Regions from separate parts of the Homo sapiens genome. Here region 1 is linked to region 2. The links are contacts of gene promoters, found by promoter capture Hi-C in human tissues and cell types (Jung and others, 2019). All regions are on one chromosome and are shown on one strand. The core of a region is centred on a gene start or on the middle of the fragment in contact, and the rest is flanking DNA. Distances in the headings are between cores, read along the strand shown. Region 1 overlaps TMED3 (transmembrane p24 trafficking protein 3). Region 2 holds the start of ANKRD34C (ankyrin repeat domain 34C).

Region 1 (5,322 bases), core at 838-3,337, 40 kb after region 2:
AGGCATAATGTGTTGTCTATTGCTGAGTAACTAATTACTACAAACATAGTGTCTTAATGCAATACTCACTTATTACCGCACAGCTCTGTATGCTGTGAGCCTGGGCAGGTTGGCCAGATTCTTTGGGGTCTCCCAAGCCTGATGTCGAGGTGGTGGCAGGTTGGGCTCCTACCTGGAAGCTCTGGGGAAGGATCTGCTTTCATGCTCATTCAGGTTGTTGGTGGAGTTCAGTTCTTTGTGGTTGTAGGACTGAGGTCCCCATTTCCTTGCTGACTGTTGTACCCTCAACGCCTGGAGGCCTTTTTCTGGTCCTGGCAAGTGGTCACCTCCACCTTCAAAGCCAGTGTGGCACATTGAATTTTTCTCATGCTTCAGAACTGTCTTGACTTCTTCTGCAACTAGCTGGAGAAAGCTCCTGGCGTCTGAGGGCTCCTGTGATGGGATCAGGCCTGAATAACCTCCCCATCTTCAGGTCAGCTGTGTCATATTAACGTGATGCAGTCACAGAGGTGACAGCTCATCATATTCACAGCTTTCTGGAATTAGGGCGGGGGACCTTGGTGGTGGTGGGAAGGACATTTTCAGACTTCTGCCTACCACACTGAATATTTTTGCAGGTAAAGAAAGTTATGATGTAGTATGTGTTACACATGAGCGTATGTGTCTATGTAGTGCCTGTTTATATATATGTGTCTTTGCATGTGTGTGCATGTGCTTACATACATGAAGCGTGTGTCTTCATGTGTTTGTGTTTATACATAAAACTATAGGCAGCAATTACATAATAGAATGAGCATGAGCAGTGGATTCAGAGTCCAAACACAACTGTGGTCTAGTTCACACTTTGCTGTTTATTAGTTGTATGACTTTGGGCAATTCGTGTAGCCTCTTGGAGCCTCAGTTTCCTCATCTGTGTGTGGGATAAGCCCTCGTTAACAGTGAGGGTAATGATCCGTGCCTATCAGGAGTATTGTAAGGATTGAATAAGAGAGTATAGGGCAGTGCTTGAAAGCATAGGCTCAGGACTCAGACTCTAACTCAGCCACATACTAACTGTGTGACTCTGGGCAAGTTACTTAACCTCTCTGAGCTTCAATTAGGCTTGTTGTGAGGATTAAATAAAACCACGTAAAACCCTTAGCACAGACTCTTAGTTAGCATTCAGTGGATATCACCTAGGATGTTGACAACAGCATTTGCTGTTTGCTGGATCCCACATTTGTCTATGGGTTAGCAGTGTGACTGCTTTTCTCTTCCTGCCCAGATGGAGTCCGCCTGCGTGACCATCCATGAGGCTCTGAAAACGGTGATTGACTCCCAGACGCATTACCGGCTGCGGGAGGCCCAGGACCGGGCCCGAGCAGAAGACCTTAATAGCCGAGTCTCTTACTGGTCTGTTGGCGAGACGATTGCCCTGTTCGTGGTCAGCTTCAGTCAGGTGCTACTGTTGAAAAGCTTCTTCACAGAAAAACGACCCATCAGCAGGGCAGTCCACTCCTAGCCCCGGCATCCTGCTCTAGGGCCCCTCATGCCCCAGGCTGGAGCAGCTCTCCTAGGTCACAGCCTGCTGGGCTGGGTCGCGTAGCCCAGGGTGGAGGCAGAACGATGCTGCTGTGGTAGCCCTTTGCCTTTCATGCCCATGCTTGATTCTTGCACCTCAGCAGCTGAAGGTCTCAGAGACCAGTAATCAGAAGGCATCCGACTGCATTAAGTGTGCAGCGCTGAAAAGACATTTACAACTAGGCCAGGGATTAGCCACTGTGGGAGGGTGGACAGGCAATGGTTCAGTGGCCTGGCTGTTGGCAGGAACTCCAAGTGCCCAGGCCTCTTGGGCAGCTTAGGGCCCTGCCTCTGTTTCATGATGCATGGGTCATTTGTCTTGGGTGTCCTATCCCATATGGAGAAGAAAGGGGCTCTAAGTTCTGGCTCTTCTTTCTTTGGGGTTCTCTGTACCTGAGGAAACCAGGCCCTGGGTGACTTTGCAGATCTGCTCACCCTCGGTGAGCAACAGTGTCAGCCATGCAAGCAGGACAGAATGGTGACTGGGTGCCCTTGGTGAGCTGTGTATTTCCTAGGAGGTAGAAAACTGTGGGAAACTGTGGCTAATAAAAACTAAGTGTGAGCGTCCTGGAGACTTGTGCCTTTATTTCTTTGCCCTAAAGGACTCCAGAGCTTACTGCAGAGCATGGGTGTGTGCATAAATAATTAGAATGTGACATAGAGTACCTAGAGAGGTGCATGGGGTGCTGTGCAGAGATGTATAGAGTGGGCAAGAAATGACTCCTCCCAGGTGACTGAAAACAAAATAGGAAGTCTCCTCGCATGCTCACACCATGTTGTACAACGGAACTTTGCAAATGCTGTTTCCTCTGATAATACCTTCTCCCGGATATCTGCATGCCCTGCTCCATCATTTCCTTCTGACCCAAAGGCACATTATCAGTGAAGTCCCTCCCAACCACTCTTCAAGATGGTACTGTCTCACTTGCCCTTAGTCCTCCTTGCCCATTAGTAAGAAATGAATGCATACCAATCAGATGTCTGTGCAGTAGGTCTGGAGGGAAGATACAGTGTCTCCGCTGAAGGAAACCTATCAAATCTGAAATCCTGCACCGTCTGACAGGCGTTAATGCATTGTAGGAAAGGAAGCAAAATAATCTCTTTAAAAGGATACCCCATAAGCCTCACTTATTTAGCTTGATTGAAGGATAAATGTTGCTTATCTTTCATATGTTTTTGCTATTTCTTTTCTCTTATTTTAGAATTAAGTACTGGGTATATATAAAAGGTTACTTATGAAATATGTCTAAGGTGAAATATGTCTAAAGTGAAAAACAATACAAAAATCCTATGCTCCTGCTACCTAGATTAAGCACTGCAACATGACCCATTGCTTCTGGAATGTTCTCTACCTGCCCTTCTCCTTCACCCTCTGAGGGAACCACCAGCCTGAATGTAATGCTTATCAAGCACTGAGAAAGGAGTTTAAAGAATTGAAGGACACAGCTTTACTAAAACTCACGTTGTCTTCCACTTTTTTATGGAAACTAGGTTCTTTCAACCTTAAAAAAAATAGGATTGCTGGTGATACCTGTTTTATTTATATAACCTTGTAATCATTTATCCATAAATATGTAGATTCATTGAGGGGGCAAAAACCCTGCCCCACTGGCTGATTTAGGAAATAATGTTGGCAATAAAATGTACTGCTTATGCAGTGTTTATGTTTTGATCAATTAGGTACTAATAACAGTTGAAATAACTTCCCAATCCAGAAGAAATTTTTTTTTCTTTTGAGACAGAGTCTCACTCTGTCGCCCAGGCTGGAGTGCAGTGGTGCAGTCTCGGCTCACAGCAACCTCCCCCTCCTGGGTTTACACCATTCTCCTGCTTCAGCCTCCCAAGTAGCTGGGACTACAGGCACCCGCCACCACGCCCGGCTAATTTTTTTGTATTTTTAGTAGAGACGGGGTTTCACCGTGTTAGCCAGGATGGTCTCGATCTCCTGACCTCGTGATCCGCCCGCCTCGGCCTCCCAAAGTGCTGGGATTACAGGCGTGAGCCACTGCACCCGGCCCCAGAAGAAATATTTTTAACACTTAAGCTTTACAGTTAAACAGCATATGAAACATTTTGAAATTGAAGATTTTTTGTTATAGAGAAATACAATAGGGTACTCTATATAATTTCAAACAGAGTAATACAGTTCCATAAGAAAGATGAAATGGAAGTATGACTCTAAGAAGGAAGGGGAAAGATGGAAAATTTCTGAGCATTTATTTATGGATGATGATGGGTATCAAATCGTCTTAGTAATTAGAATCCACTGAATATAATTAAAATAGTGATGTAATTTTTTAAAAAGTAATATTTAATATATGGTAGAAATTATCTCCCTTGTAACTATTTAAATTCATGATGAAATATTTTAGATGTCAGCTTTAAAAATGTATGAGGCTTTAGAGTTTCTCAAGTTCTTTTAGGGGATATTTAAGCAAAAGAAATAGGAGAGGCTATTTGCATCTGGATTTTCTGGAGAGACTCGTTGACATCTGGGCAGCATGGTGGAAAAGGGTGTCAGCATTGGCATTTTAGTAGAAAGAGGACTGGGTTGGGGCTGACCTTTCTGGATTTGAATCCAGGTCTGCTATGTGCTACTTGTGCCATCTTGGGTAAGGTACTGAACCTCTCTGAACCTTCATTTCCTCATCTGTAAAATGAGCAGAAGGGAGTATTTTTACTGGCCAGGAACTTCAGGCTTATGCATTGGTAAACAGAATTAGGATTCACCCTGTTTTCAGTAAAATCCCTTTAAATTTGAGGCCTGGGTGGAACTGACAGGTGGAGTTTGAAGGCACATCTGCTAGCTCACATAGGAAACAGAATCTCCCAGGGAAAAGACATAGGACCTCTGACTCTAACTGAGGTTCTGGATTATTATGAGAGATTTTCAGAAATGGTCTAATGGTGTTGGCTTGCTCCATACCATAGATTTTAAGAGACAGTAGAGCTTCTGCGATGAGATTCCCCCATAAAATAATTATGGATCTGCACTGGCAAGCTGGTCTTGGCTCCAAAGACCAAGAGTTGGTTTGTGGTGCTGATTCTGAACCCTTGCGATGCAACTGTCTGGTAGTAAAATGGCTTTGTATGGTAAGAAAGCTTTAATCCTCGAGGCCTAGACAACTTTACTGCAGGGCATTCTCTACAGGATGACTTTAGTGGGGAGGTGATGTTTTCTTTGTTGAAAGATAATTTTCCAAAAAAGGATAAAATCATTAAGTGTTATATAAAATGAACACGTGTATTAGGGTTCTCCAGAGGGACAGAACTAATAGGATATATGTATATATGAAAGGGAGTTTATTAAGGAGAATTGACTCACACGATCACAAGGTGAAGTCCCACGATAGGTCCTCTGCCAGCTGAGGAGCAAGGAAGCCAGTAGAGGCTCAGTCCGAGTCCAAAAACCTCAAATGTAGGGAGGCCAACAGTGCAGCCTTCAGTCTGTGGCCAGAAGCCCAAGAGCCCCCAGCAGACCACTGGTATAAGTCCAAGAATCCAAAGGCCAAAGAACCTGCAGTCTGATGTCCAAGGGCAGGAAACATCCAGCACGGGAGAAAGATGAAAGCCGGAAGACTCAGCAAGCCATCTTATCCCACCTTCTTCCACTTGCTTTGTTCTAGCGCTGCTGGCAGCCGATTGAATGGTGCCCACCCACATTGAGGGTAGGTGGGTCATCCTCTCCCAGTCCATTGAGTCAAATGTTAATCTCCTCTAGCAGCACCTTCACAGACACACCCAGAAACAATACTAGCTATC
Region 2 (5,266 bases), core at 2,216-4,715:
CTATACTTGAGTCCCTGGTGGTCTTAAGCTGGAGGGCATTGATAGTAGTAGATATTCAAAGCTTTTATTACTATTATTAGCAATTTTTTTAAAAAAAAAGTACTATTGCTGTTGTTGTTTTTAATCAAGTAGGCCTAGCATGTAAGGTGCATCTCTGAGGAAGTAGCTGAGATATCCATAAGAAAGCAGACTTGGAATAGGTTGCAAAAGTCCTTTTGCTTCATGGAACAGTGTGAGTTGATTCACTTACACACATACATACACACACATCTCCAAAGAGATGCTGACAAGTCTTTAGAATGCTCCTTTGCAAAGGCAGAGAACGTGCCTGTCTTATTCTAAATCTACAGCACTCCAAAAGAAGGCAGATCAGGTCACATAGCACAGACTCAATAGTAGATTTTGGCTGAAAACCAAAATGAATTCAAGCCTCCTAGGAGACCTTAACAGTTTAATTTAAATACTGATAGATCAGGCAGATAAGCGTAGTTAACACATACAGGGTGCTTACTCCCTATCAGACACTGTGCTAAACATTTTACATATTTTACCTTAGCTGCCTCTCATCCCAGTTGTAGAAAGTAGATACTAATATTAACCCAATTTTATGGACACAAAGGCATTTGGTGTCTCATCGGAGACACAAAGGCATTTGGTGTCTCATCAGAGACTATGCAGCTGGTGAGTGCTGGAATTGGGATTTAAATACAGGCAGTCTGACCCCTGAGTCTGTGCTCTTAATCAATACACTATACTGCCTGTAGTCCAAAGTAAAGATGTAAAGGTTGCTGATATGGTTTAGCTGTGGTCCCACCCAAATCTCATGAATTGTAGCTCCCATAACCCCCACATGTCAAGGGCAGAGCCAGGTGGAGATAATTGAATCACAAAGGCGGTTTCCCCCATACTGTTCTCATGGTAGTGAATAAGTCTCATGAGATCTGACAGTTTTGTAAACGGGAGTTCCCCTGCACAAGCTCTCTTGCCTGCCACCATGTAAGATGTGACTTTCCTTCTCCTTTGACTTCCATCATTATTGTGAGGCCTCCCCAGCCATGTGGAACTGTGAATCCATTAAACTTCTTTCCTCTATGAATTACCCAGTCTCACGTATGTCTTTATTAGCAGTGTGAGAGAGGACTAATACAGGTACTAATGTACAATTAACTTTACAGGTGTACTTGTATTGTTTGTGCCCCAAAACACAGAATGTACATTTTTTTTCTACATTAAGTGTGAGGGAAAATGCTTGTGGAGTATTTTTTATTTGTCATATAAATAGACCACAACACGGAAATGATGTAAATCATATAATTCAACTACAGCAAAATAATATTAATGAAAAATAGTGGGGGAGAACACAACATCAGGAATAAAAAGGGGATATAGGAATAGATTTAAAGGAGATGAAAAATTATAAAGGAGCATAATATGTAACATTATGCCAATACATTAAAAAAGGTAGATGAAATGAACTTTTTTCCAGGTAAATATAAATTACCCAAAATTGACTCAAGATGGGTCAGATGATGAATATGCCAACAAGCATCAATGAATTTGAAAAGATAATCAAAGATCTATCCTTCTAAAATCCATCAAGTCCAGACAGTTTCATGGGTATGTTCTATTAAACCCTCAATGAACTGATAGTTAACTTGATAATTTAAATATTCCAGAGTGTAGGAAAAAACAGAATGCGTCCAAAATCATTCTATAAGGTTACCATAACCTTGCACCAAAGTTGAATGAGAACCCTCATCCCCTAAAAAGGAAAAAGAACACAATTTTTACTTATTAATATAGACGGAATAAACCTTATATTAACATAAGTAAATTATTGCAATCTAGCAGTGTATTTGTATAAAATAACATACATTAACCAAGTAGAGTTTGTTTTGAGAAATATAAAGTGTTATAAAGGTGGCATTCACATCAGTGAGCGAAGAATGGACTTTTTGAATTGGTGTTGGGACAATTGGGTTCTCATCTTTGTCAGTTCCTTACCTTACCCTGTGCACAAATACAGTTTCCAGATGAAATGGTAATCTAAACAACAGAGCTATACATTACTAGAACATTTAGGGAACTGTATGGTGATTCTGGGGTACGAAGCCTCCCTAGGCAAGATGGGAAATCTAGAAACCATGCAAGATAAGACATGTGTTTGACTACATAAACCTTGAAACTGCTTTAGAGAGAAAAACTCCACAAACAGTAGGCAGTCATTATAAATATTGGGTACTAGGAGGGTACATTTCTCTAAGTGATACTATAGACACACTAAGTGATAAAGGCAACTTATGGAATAATATTTTTGCCCTTAAAAGATAAAATTGATAATCCTCCAGCAAGCTTGATTTAAAAAATTGGGAATGGAGCAGTAGAAAACACAAATAAATAATATCAGCAATAAGGAGGCCCAGAACAGTTTTAGAGATGAAAATAAATATAAGGTGACACTATTTGTAACTTTGTGCCAGAAAATTTGAAAATGTAAATGAGATGGACAATATCCTAGGAAAATATAAATTACTAAAAATGACTGAAGAAGTAGGGATTTAAAAAACATAGGGCAAATAGAACCCCTGTGTGCATATACATGTATCTAGACGAAAATGCTGGTTACCTCTGGGGAACTGATTAGTGGGGGAAGGACACTGCAGGGTAGGGGAGGAGGGGGCACTCACTTTCTATTTTTTTTGGAAAGCATTTTAGTTTTTTTTTTTTTTGTAGAGACTTTTTTTTTTTTTTTTTTTTTTTTTTTTTTTTGGTAAGTCTCACTATGTTGCCTAGGCTGGTTTTGAACTCCTGGCCTCAAGCGGTCCTCCTACCTTGGCCTCCCAAAGCGCTAGGATTACAAGCATGAGCCACTTACTTCCTAAATACAATGCCTTATGCTTTCAATCATATGCAGCAACTATTAACTACTTTGTAAAAAGGAAACGAAGATTGTCCGCGAACGACTCCACAGGAGGCCCTGGGAATAGGTAGCGGGTGGGCTAAAACATTGATTTGGAATGAAATCCAACGGCCGTGGAACCAGCCCTGATCATCAAATTATTCCCAGTTTTGAGGATCGCACTGCACCCTCCTCTCTCCCTCTCTTTCCTACACCTTGGACAGACAGCCTGAGATTCCAGGGCGTGTGTGAAGGAAAGCCGAGGAGGGCAGGGCCGCAGAGAGAACAAAGGGGACACGAGTTCAAATTCCTGCCAGGGTCTGAGACCTGCAACGTCAGACTTTGGGAGCGTCCCCTCACTTCTCCGGACCCCAGGAGTGGCCGCGCCTGCTCCGCGCTCACCCTCGGGGAGTCTAGGAGCCCCCTGCTAAGTTGCTGAGCGAGTCGGAGCCCCAAGAGCTAGGGTCGAGGGGGTGGGGCAGCAGGCGCCTCTGCCGAGGCTGCAGGTAGGCACTTCCCCACCCCCGCGGCCCCCTCCTTCCTCCTTCCTCGCAGCTCGCACACCCACACAACCCTCGCCCGTCGCGGCTGGAGAGCTGCTCTCGGCGCCAGCGGGCAGCAGCGCGTCGTCAGCCAGCACAGCCGGCCGAAGACCAAGCCGGAGGTCTGGGGCTGCGCAGAGACCTGCACACCCGCAGCGCGGAACCGGGGGCGATTCCTATCTTTCTTTCATGCTTCTTTCTTTTTCTTAAAACCAAACCAAACCAAACCAAACCCAAAACTCCCCTGCTCCCACCGCAACTTGGAGGAGCGGTGGACCGATTTGAAGGAACTGACGCAGAGGTTTTATTCACGAACCTTGAAGAAGTTCTGGGCAAGTGACTCAACAGGACCCGCGGGGCCCGGGGTAGCCCCAGCTCCCGGCGCTGGTTCAGTCTGGCAGTGCCCTCTGGCAGCCAACCCGCAGCTGCAGGTAGGGGTGCTGGACGCCCCCTGATTTTGTTTTGGGAATAATAATGACACTACCTATAGCCTGGACCCAGGTGGCCTCGCTCGGCGATTGTCCCCACCAGGTAAGCGCACCCCCAGGGGTCTGCATTGGTCACCCGGGTGGGGACCTCGAGCTCCCGAGAAGTCGGTCCATGCTGTTTAGCCACAGGCAGGAGTGGGGAACTGGTAGGAGACAGCTTGCTTTTATCACAGGAAATTGTGGGAGACGGGAATGGAAGGCGGATTTAACATTTTTTATTTTTGCATTGACGCGTGGGGATGAGATGCGTAGGGGCCTGGATTCTTGTAGGAAATGGTTGCGGAGCGGGGCTGGGTGATAGGTGTCTGGATTTTTGCAGGGACTGAAGGGGAAGAAAGGTCGTCAGTTTTTGCAGAAACCTGTGAGGAACTGGCGGTGAGAGGTTATGATCCTGAAAATGTGCACGAAATTGTAAAAAGTAGGCACCTAAGCATTTCTGAGAAATGATGGGAGAAGCACTTACCGCCCTGGTTTCACCTGACCCCCATGCTCGGCCTTCTGGAAGATGCCCACAGACACTGGCAATAATGGACGCTGGCACACTCTGCCGGCGCGGCCGGAGCCCCGGAGTTCAGCACCTCGGACAGAGCCCGAGCCCCGCCGCCCGAGGCGCACAGTGAGCGTGGAACAGCCCGGCTCCCTAGCCCCCGGCCAACGCTGCTCTCAGTTCAGGGCAGCTACGTAACACCGCCCCTAGCTCCGCGCCAGAAAGGGCTCTCGAATCGCAAAAGCAAACGTGTTCGATTTCTGATCTGCTTCTAACTGCTTCCCGTGACTGCAGAAGGAAGAGGCGGAGTGTAAAGATATCTCCCAAGCTTCCGCGAAAACTACAGGCAAACTGTGTGGCCTCCCCGGATTTCGGAAGGTGTACCCAAACTTCTTTAAAAATCTAGCATTTATTAAGCGCTTACCATGTGCCAAGGCCCCGTGCTAAGCCAGTGCACCACAAATTTGTGTCCTATGAGTATCCCCATTTTACAGATGAGAAAACTGAAGCAAGAGAGGCCGAGTAACTTGTCCAGGTTTATGGAACTAGCAAATGGTATGGCTGCGCTCTTAAACGCTGCCAGATTGCAGTGGTGGGAGGATGTGCTTGAGTGGAATTCCCTGCGTGAAATAGCTCTGAACTTGGGATCAGAGGAACAGAGTTTAAATCAAAGCTGTAGCACTTAAAAACGTGTGCCCTTAGACAAAATTACTAAATGTGTCTGAACTTCAGATTTTAACTATCTGTAAATACTTGATAATGCTTTCCTTGCAAAAGTGTCAGGGGAGGGTGGCCAAGGAGATCATATGTGTGGAAAGACTGGCAAACTGGGAATTGTGGTTGGGTGTTA

The links. The method cuts DNA at HindIII sites, captures the fragments that hold promoters and counts their contacts. A contact is called where the count stands out against the background at its distance.
Region 1: a contact is called between a fragment that was not itself captured here and the fragment with the promoter of ANKRD34C in region 2, in 1 of the 25 tissues and cell types used here (pancreas).

The regions. Positions count from the first base shown.
Region 1 is chr15:79,320,714-79,326,035 of GRCh38, forward strand. TMED3 (transmembrane p24 trafficking protein 3) reads left to right here. Exons shown (of 3, transcript NM_007364.4): 3 at 1,265-2,127. The coding sequence ends at 1,501. Among named protein-coding and RNA genes, the nearest start is that of TMED3, 12 kb to the left of the region's middle. The HindIII fragment of the contact is 4,091 bases long and covers 43-4,133 here.
Region 2 is chr15:79,279,257-79,284,522 of GRCh38, forward strand. ANKRD34C (ankyrin repeat domain 34C) reads left to right here and starts at 3,466. Exons shown (of 2, transcript NM_001146341.2): 1 at 3,466-3,972. It overlaps ANKRD34C-AS1 (ANKRD34C antisense RNA 1), which reads right to left and starts at 4,689. Exons shown (of 2, transcript NR_038997.1): 1 at 4,393-4,689. RefSeq lists an enhancer at 3,401-3,940 and a silencer at 3,592-3,790. The HindIII fragment of the contact is 7,267 bases long and covers 1,207-5,266 here.